2 separate regions of the Homo sapiens genome follow, and region 1 is linked to region 2. Evidence: promoter capture Hi-C in human tissues and cell types (Jung and others, 2019). All regions are on one chromosome and are shown on one strand. The core of a region is centred on a gene start or on the middle of the fragment in contact, and the rest is flanking DNA. Distances in the headings are between cores, read along the strand shown.

Evidence for each region. Contacts are between HindIII fragments. The study calls those that stand out against the background at their distance.
Region 1: a fragment that was not itself captured here is called in contact with the fragment with the promoter of RILPL1 in region 2 in 1 of the 25 tissues and cell types used here (spleen).

The regions. Positions count from the first base shown.
Region 1 is chr12:122,880,761-122,885,586 of GRCh38, reverse strand. The region is part of intron 1 of VPS37B (VPS37B subunit of ESCRT-I); the gene reads left to right. Among named protein-coding and RNA genes, the nearest start is that of VPS37B, 13 kb to the left of the region's middle. The HindIII fragment of the contact is 7,734 bases long and covers 1-4,826 here.
Region 2 is chr12:123,530,386-123,535,040 of GRCh38, reverse strand. It overlaps RILPL1 (Rab interacting lysosomal protein like 1), which reads left to right and starts at 1,322. Exons shown (of 7, transcript NM_178314.5): 1 at 1,322-1,867. The coding sequence starts at 1,559. RefSeq lists silencers at 394-579, 599-1,288 and an enhancer at 1,504-2,321. The HindIII fragment of the contact is 25,082 bases long and covers 1-4,655 here.

The DNA of each region.
Region 1 (4,826 bases), core at 21-2,520, 650 kb after region 2:
GATAAACACTGTTAACAAAGCATTTAAGTTTTTTTCCTTTGTTGTTCCCTTTTGGGATGATTTTTTAGAGTTTTTGTAGAGTTTTTGTTTGATTTTAACCTAAAGTTATACTCTGGGTATTTTCTTATTTTTTAAATCAGAATATTCTTACATGACATGATTTTTAACAGCTATGTGATCTTTCATGTGGATATGTCATTTATATAACCATTCCTTTATTGGATATTTAGGCACTTTTTTGCTGTCATAAATTATAATGCAGTTAACATCTTTGAAATCTGTTTAAAACAAATACGTTAAAGTGATCAACATTTAACTTTTTTTTTTTTTAGTAAGTCTTAAGTGTCTAGGCAGTTTTTAGGTAAAATATCTGATCCCCTACATGAAATATGATTATATAGTTTTTTAATTACGAAATTTCAGTGGAGTAATCTCAACAGATTCTCTTTTGACTAATCCCTTTTTTCCCTAACCACAGACTGAAAAAAAAAATTCCATTATTAGAATAGCATTTTCTCATTTAAACGGAATAGAAGATGAGTAATTGGAGTCACGTGAGAGTTAAATTTTATCTGTTGAACCAAATTCCGGGTCAGGTGTTGGAAAGTTCATGTCATGATGTATTTTAAATGTAAAAACAAAATTGTCAAAAGATACAGTCTTAATAAACATAAATCCAGGGTCCACCTGGATAGGCACTTTCTTATTTGCACCTGTGTAAAGACTGGTCCGAAGAATTCTTAGACATGAATTTCCAGAAATTGTAAAAAGGAAATAGAGATGAGGGGGAAAAAACAAACAATAAAACCCGAAGCTCTTCCTAAACAAATGAATGCTTTGGTTGTTGGTCCTGGCCAGAAACTATTAATAAGAAAATCAGAATTTTAGGAATTCTGTCTTCCGTAAGCTGGTTTTTTTTTTGAGATGGGAGGGGAGTAGAAGCTATTAACTGACACCCCTCATGGTCAGGTGGTCATGACTAGGTATCTGGACATTTCTGCTCCTACACTGGAATCTCATACTTACACAGGATCAAATGTGTTCACTCCCAGATCTGTTCATTCTGGTTTTATTACAATAGTTCTATGATTTCATTAAATCCTGGGGCAACTGGATTTTTGCATGAGTGCAAAGAGAAAGTTATTTCTACAAAAACTGTCAACTGAGTGCTTTGGAAAGCATAGATATAAATTGATTCTCTTGAAAGAAAACTTGGTGGTGAATTAGGTCTGGACTAGATAGGGGAAGTGGAAGAATTCCCAAAGGACTCGGACTCTGCCCTGATTGCTTATCCGGTGTCCAGTTCCCACCCCACAGGAAAAGGCGTGGCCTATTGGAAAAAGAACTTCTAGTGGACCCCTTCCCTTAAGAAAAGACCTTTACCTTAAATGAAACATTGACAACAGATTTTTAAAATGCTTAGTGTGTGCTTTAACCAAACTGCTCAGTTACAGGGACCTAACTGGTTCTGATGATGTGGAGTGGAGGGCTCCGCTGTGCATTTCCTGGCCTTTACTGCTGAGATTCTAATTCGGAAGGCCTAGGATAGGGCCAGAGGACAAAGGCAGTTAACTTTGTGATCTGTGTGGGTGTCCCATCTTGTCTTCTGATCCTCACTCCTGCCCTCCTTCCTCCAAGGTCTCCAGTTATTCTGAAGCCAGTTAGGACATTTTATAACATATGCCAGTTATCAGAACCATTGACACCTGTTAGTATATTTCTTTATTACTGACACCATTATCCACATTATAAGTCCAAGAAGAAGGGAGAGCTTGTTTTTCCTCTGAGTATTAGAAAATATGTCTTCTGGCCAGGCACGGTGGCTCACGCCTGTAATCCCCAGCACTTTGGGAGGCCAAGGCAGGCGGATCACGAGGTCAAGAGATCGAGACCATCCTGGCCAACATGGTGAAACCCCATCTCTACTAAAAATACAAAAATTAGCTGGATGTGGTGGTGCACACCTGTAGTCTCAGCTACTTGGGAGGCTGAGGCTGGTTGAACCCAGGAGGCAGAGGTTGCAGTGAGCTGAGATCGTGCCACTGCACTCCAGCCTGGTGACAGAGTGAGACTCTTGTCTCAAAAAAAAGAAAAAAGAAAAGAAAATATGTCTTCTAGGAAAAACCAAACCCTCTCCTGGTAAGTTGTGCCTGCCAGCCCTAGAAACTGTCAAGTGTGTCACTTTCCATCTTACCTAGGAATAGTCCATTTATTTTCGAGCCTAGCTTTTTGTGTTTCTGTGGTTAGCTGCACTCACACGTACCAATTTTTAGATTCACGTCAGCTACATATGGAGGGGATCGTTTGAGTCTAGATCTCACTGTCTGTTCCTTTTCGAGGGAAGCAAGTTTTCTCTCAAGAAGGATTTTGATGTCTCCGATAAAAATAGCTATCTTTATTAATCTAATAGTTGGAAGTTAGAGGTTCTGTGTGTGGAGTGGGTTGTTTGGTGGAACATTCGATAAGCAGCTGGTAAGTTTCCTTCCTGAGTGGGCTGTAGCCTTGGAGATGGTTTCACACAACCCCCAGGATTGTCGTATTTTAGGACTGTTTCATAATGTTCTCCGATTCTTTAACTATATTTCTGTATTTGCAGATCTTTTAATTTTGTCAACATGTTAATAGTCCAACTCCGCAACTGTTAAGTTTGTTTCAGTAAAACTGAAGATTTGAATTAAGCCACATTAATGTGTTTACAGCACATCTAAGGGCCATCGTAGGCTTGGGTTACAGGCTTCACCTGAAGACCTGAATTCAGGTGGAGACTGGTGAAATTAGTTTGTCATTGGGAATATCTTTTTACTGAATGAAGGTGAATTTGGACTTTTAAATAACCTAGCCTTTAATGTAAAGCTCAAACTCAAATTGCATGTTACTTTGGTGAAATTTACCTTGAAATTAGTTGGTGTGATAAATCAAGTATAGTAAAATAAAAAGAGATGCAGTTAACCTAGCTGAATGTATGGCAGCCTTTCTTTATCAAACCTAACCCATAAGCCTGCTGCATTTAAGGTCTTAATGCAATTTGAGAATATTTCTAGTAGTAGAATAGTACAAAAGCTAAGATTTGTTTTATTCCTTTTCTTTGTGTTATAGATAACTTTGAATTTAATTTTATCTGGAGAGGAAAAGGTGAAAATCAAATTTCCCACCAAAAGGAACTAGTATTCCTTTGAGAAGGGCCAGCTAAGCTTGGGGGCAGCAAATGTACAGGATTGGTCTTAGACATATTTTACTGGAGAGCAGGGCAGCAGTGGTGTCCCAGAACAGCCTTTTATCAGAGATAAAAACTTCATTACTTCATAATGATACTCCCAAAAAGCTTATTGGTCATTTTTGGAGTTTGCTCAGGTATGAACTCAGTCTTCCAAAAGTTGGTTTAAAAAGAAAAAAAAAAGAACCAAGCATTTATCCAGCTTTTCCTATATAAACTGTATTTCATGTAGTCAAATAGATGAGGCAAAAAGTTTTTTATAGAAGAAATTGAGCCAACACATGCAGAGGATGATATTAAAGGATTATTGTGAATTTTGCTAAATGTGATTATGGCATTGTAGCTAGGGTTAAAAAGTTCTTACCTGTTAGAAATATAAAATTTTTAAGCATGAATGATGATGCTCGAAGTTTGCTTTAAACTACTTTTAAAAAAAAGCGGGAATATAGATGAAGATTGGCAAATGTTGCTAATTGTCGAACCTAGGAGACGGTTATACATAGTTTCATCATACTCATCTCTCTACCTTTACTTTTTGAAAGTATCTTCTATAAAAGGTTTTTTTAAAAAAGGTATAAATAGGAATGAACCTTAGATGATTGTTGTTATAACATGAAAATAGAGAAATAGTAAACTAGTAAATTTCCATTTGATCCTCTGCTGGAGTGTAGTGGTGTGATTACAGCCCACTGCGGTCTTGCCTTCCCTGGCTCAAGCAAGCCTCCTTCCTCAGCCTCCCAGTAGTTGGGACCACAGGTGCATGCTGCCATGGCTGGCTCATTTTTTATTTTTTGTAGAGATGGGGTCTTACTTTATTGCTCAGGCTGTTCTCCAACCAACTCCTGGGCTTAAACAATCTGCCTGCCTGGGCCTCCCAGAGTGCTGGGTTTACAGCCATGAGCCACCATACCTGGCATAATTTATTTTTAGAGATAGGGTCTCACCATGTTGCCTAGACTGGCCTTGAACTCCTAGGCTCAAGTGATCCTCTTGCTTCAGCCTCCCAAGTAACTGGGGCTACAGGCGTGAGCCACTGCACAGTAGTTAAGATCGCAGCTCTGGAGGGAGTTACTAGCAGTTGTAACTTTGACAGCTCGTTTAACCTTCCTAAGATTGTGTTTCCTGTCTCTTGAGTAAAATGAGGACAAATTTGTCTCACTGTCACAGAGGATAGAATGGAGACAGTGGAACTAAGAGAAGGTGGCACATGCTAGCTATGCTCAACAAATGTCAGCAAATTTTGTTGAAATGTGGAAGATACTGACAAGAGCAAAGTTTTCAGATCAGCACCAGTAACTTGTCTTACTTAAACCGTTAAAATCACATCTGTTTTGATTTTTCCCCTTTTTCTCTTTTGAGCCTTTTATTGGAAGAGCAGATGCAGTCTGTGCGGGTATGCAGTGCTGCAGTACGAAGTGAATGGCACCCCCTGGAGTTGGGCAGTGCACAACGCTCAGTGCCTTACGTAGGAGGATGGGCTTGACTGAGACTCTGAGCCAGACTCCCTGTGATGATGGTGTCTCCCCCGAGCCTGGCACACAGAGGTGCTTCCCAAGTATTTCTTGTATGAATGAACGAACAGATGAATGGGCCAACCACTGTGCTGGAGCAT
Region 2 (4,655 bases), core at 73-2,572:
TCTGCCTCAGCCTCCTGAGTAGCTGGGATTACAGGCATGCGCCACCATGCCCGGCTAATTTTTGTATTTTTAGTAGAGACGGGGTTTCACCACCTTGGCTAGGCTGGTCTTGAACTCCTGACCTCGTCCACCTCAGTCTCCCAAAGTGCTGGGATTACAGGCGTGAGCCACCGCGCCCGGCCAACTTTTAGATTTTTAATCAATACGTGCCACGTTGGGGTGCGCTTTATGGCTACAAGGGCATTAAGATTTCTTCCCTCAAGGAGCCAAGATCTGACGGTGGAAACCTACCTGCAACCACACGGTGAAAACTCAGGATGCTAAGAGCAATCCTGATGGGGCAAGCAGGGGACTGTGAGTTTGCAAGGGGGTCCTTAACTCCTGCGTGGGGGGCGGGGAGGGTGGATGGGGTTCTGGGTTCAGGAAACGTTCTCCCGGGAGTGGGAGGGGGTCTGATGGACAAGTGGATTTGGCCAGCCCAAATGGACAGGGGGCCTTGGGACAAGAGAACTCGTGGTGCTGGAATGCCAAGCGGGCTTCGCTCTACTGTGAAGTGGCGTTCATGTCACAAGGAGCCAGTGATGGATGTGGCTCGGGGAGGCGCGCCCTGGGGCTCCGGGGATCCAGCATTCCTCGACACGTCGGCCCCTCTCCGGGCGCCTCTGCAAGTCCGCCTGGTGGCCGGGTCTGCGCGGAGTGTCTGCGGGCCGGGGGGGGTCCCCGTTCTCTTCCTGGGATGAGCCCCAGCCCGGGGACCTCCTCGTGACCCCTCCATCCCTCTCCAAGGCCGGGGCCGCTACCCGGAGCAGCGAATCGTCCCGCGAGACCAGCGCCCCCGGCCCCCTCTCCCGGGGCGGCCTGGACCCCTCCCGGCGGCCGGGTGGTGGGAGGAGTCAGCGCCGGGCGGGGGAGGGGCGGCCGGGGCACGGGTGAGGGGCGCCGCGGGTCCGGCGGCTGGAGAGGGGGGCCCGGAGTGCAGGCCGCGGAGTCGGCGCTTGGGGGGGTACCCCGGGGCGCCCCCGGGCGGCGGAAAGCGGGCGCGCCCCTGGCCAGGCCGGGATTGGGGCGGGGCGCGCGGCCTCCCTGTGGGGAAGCGATCACCCGGCCTCGCAGCCGCCGCCGCCAAAGTTTCCCGGAGGAGCCGCGGGCCGCCCTTCCTCTCCGGCCCCGCGCTCTGCCGCCCCTCAGGCCCGCACCGCCCCGAGGCGCCCGGCCCGGCTCCATTGAGCGCAACTCGGATCCCAACTTGGGAGGCGCCGCGGGCCTGCGCACGCGCGCGCCCTCCCCGCTGCCGCCGCCGCCGCCGCCGCCGCCGCCGCCCACTCGGGAGCAGCTCCGGGCCGAGCCGGGCGCCCAGACCCCGGGCCCGCACACCCCGCGCCGCCGCCCGTGCCCGCGCCCGCGCCCGCCGCCCGCTGCCCGCTGCGCCCTCGCCCCAGCGCCCGCTGAGCGCGCCCGCCCGCGGCCCAGGCTGGGCCCGGCCGGCCCGGCCCTCGACAGCGGCAAGTTTGGGAGTTGCACGAGTTTGCGGGGCGGGGGACAGGCCAGGAGGGTGGCCATGGAGGAGGAGCGGGGGTCGGCGCTGGCGGCCGAGTCGGCGCTGGAGAAGAACGTGGCCGAGCTGACCGTCATGGACGTGTACGACATCGCGTCGCTTGTGGGCCACGAGTTCGAGCGGGTCATTGACCAGCACGGCTGCGAGGCCATCGCGCGCCTCATGCCCAAGGTCGTGCGCGTCCTGGAGATCCTGGAGGTGCTGGTCAGCCGCCACCACGTCGCGCCCGAGCTGGACGAGCTGCGCCTGGAGCTGGACCGCCTGCGCCTGGAGAGGATGGACCGCATCGAGAAGGAGCGCAAGCACCAGAAGGTGGGCGGCGGCCTCGGTCTGTCCGTCCGGGCAGTGGGACCGCGGGGACCCAAGGGCTCTTCCGCATTGGGCAGCTGTGGGTGCGCACGTGTGTGTGTTCAGGGACCGGACCAGAGGAGACCCGACGTGGGGAGGGAGGGAGGCCCTGGCCTTCTTTTGCCCGACCAGGGGTGGCTGGCAGATACCACCCGAGAGATTAAGAGCTGTTCTCTGGAGTTCCAATCCCACCTTTACCGTTTAATAGCTGTGTGACTTTAGGTAAGTTACTTAACCTCTCTGTGCTTTATTTCCTCACCTGTCAAATGGTAATCATAATAGGACCCACCTTAGAAGAATTAAATGGGACCATATAAGCTAAGTGCTTAGACATATTATTCTCTTCCAGACATGAAATAAGCCTCTTGGCCTCCCGAGTTACCAAGAAGATGTGACATCAGGCCCAGGACCCTTTCTTCATCCCCCCCCCCCCCAGTCTCCCCAGAGCAAAGGGAATGTGACCTCCAGCCACTGAGCTTCGTGACCCCTAGTCTTCGGGTTCATATTTGCAACTTTCTTCCCGGGACTCCCCTAGCTTATGAACCTGTGGTAGCCCGTGTTCTCTCCTCTGATTTTATCCTTAATCCTCACAGGACTCTATAGAGACTATCTTCATTTTACAGATAAAGAAACCGAGGGTCACAGTGGGAGGAGCAATTTGTCCCAAATTAGTGGTGAGAGAGTCCCAGCCCCCGTGTCTCCTCCCCACCCTGTTTGAATTGGGGGAAAGGGATGATTTGGGGTGGCTTTAAGGCTAAGCCTCTGCCCTGTGATCAGGAGTCTCTCTGAATCAGGGCCTCCCCACTGGGCCTGGAGTTCAGACGAGGTTTCTGGAGAAAAGGAAGTGAAAGACATGTGGTTTCCTGCCCTAACCTCAGCCAGGGATGCTCTTGGCAGCCCCTTCAGACTGAGAATGGGAGGAAACACCTTTCCTTGAGGGATCAGGGTGCCTGAGCAGTCTCCAGCTTGCTGTTCAGCCTCAGGAAATACAGATGGCCTCTCTGAACCTCAGGGGCAGGCCATCCCTTATTGTGTACTTTGATGGATCTCTGTGTTTTGGAGTAAAATAGCCAAAGCTGGGTCTGAACCCTTTACCTGAGGGCAGACCCACAGGTAGGTAACAGCACCATTGCCATGTTTGACTGTGCTCGTCCTCATGGGTCCCTATGCCCTAGGGGCAGGAAGGAAACTCAGGCTCCCAAGAGTTGAGCAGCATTTCCGAGGTCACTCTGGGAGCCTGAAAATGCTTTGACCTGTAATTAATTTCAAGACTCCTAGAAGCTAGGACTTTGGAGCTAGACAGCCTGGTTTCAAACCCTACCACTTGCAGGCTGTGTGATCTTGGGCAAATCACCCAGCATCTCTGTGCTTCAGTTTCCTCAGTTCTAAAATGGGATAGTAATAGTACCCCCATTAGAATGTGATGAGGTTTAAAGAGTTAATATAAATACATATAAAGTGTTCAGGACAGAGCCTGCCCATAGCAAGGGCTTTGCAAGTCTTAAAATTCTTTTTAGGCCTGGAGAGACATTCATTGAGGTGCTCACAGGCTCATATTAGGAAACCGTCCCCACCCCAAGCACCTCTACTCCTACCCTAGAGGCCTCCATCTCTCATAGAGGGTCAAGGAGGCAAGGGACCTTGGAAATTCTCTCGTGTGGCGCCTCTTATTAACAGGGACCAAGGGGCTTTGACCAGATCACACAGAAGTCCTGGCACCTATACTGTCCCCCAACTGGGGCTCTTTAGTTCTGTTGCGGGGGAGCTGGGAGAAATCCTTGGAAGCCATCGGAGGCCACCAGGTCTGAAGTCACATGGAATTGTCAGCAGCTGCACTTGTTGCCTCTGGAAAGTGTTCAGCTGGGAAGTGAACACCGTGCGCTCAGGGCCAGGGCTTGTTGACTTACATTGAGGATGACCTCTCTAAATCAAGGATGCAATTCTTTTCCCACCCCAGCCCCAGACCCGTTTACTTCACATTCTTGGGATGGAGAGAGACTTGTATGATTTTTTTTTTTTTTTCCTGCAGAGTCTCAAAGGCTCTTCAAGGTGATATTTCCACAAAAATGTTTTTGGCATGTCCTGGTTTAGTCTGTCCACCTCCATTCCTCTTCCCTTTCCCCTCTTCTTCCCTACCCCTTCTTCCTTGTCTCTCTCGCTTTCAGCAATTATGGCTCCAGTAAAGGACATACACTTTCTTCCCCCTACTCCTCCTCTCAGTAGACCCACTCACTCACTTCCACTCATCACTCAGATGCAGGCCACAGTTGTGTCATGTTCTGTCTCATTACTCAGTCTGCAACTCTGATGACAGGCCATAGCGAGCACAGTGCCCTTCTTGGTACCATGGCTCTGCAGAGAAAAGCAAAGTCTCATGTCAGGCAGCAGGCGGGTAACAGGGAAGAAAGGGAAAACACAAATAAATTCTAGAAAGCAATGGCTGGGCTGATACACTCGCGTGTAACATACCAGACTATGCTATTCATTCACTCATTCAGCGAATATATTTACTGAGAACCTACTGTGTGCCATGCATTGTTCTGGGCACTGGGAAGACAGTAATGACCATGACAGATGAGGCCTTGGCCCTGATGAGCCTGACTTTTTAGTGTAGTGCTATACCATAGAAATATTATGCAGCTTTGCCATGTTAATAAAAAACAGTGAAGTTGGCTGGGCGCGGTGGCTCACACCTGTAATCCCAGCACTTTTGGGGGGCCAAGGCGGGTGGATCACTTGAGGTCAGGAATTC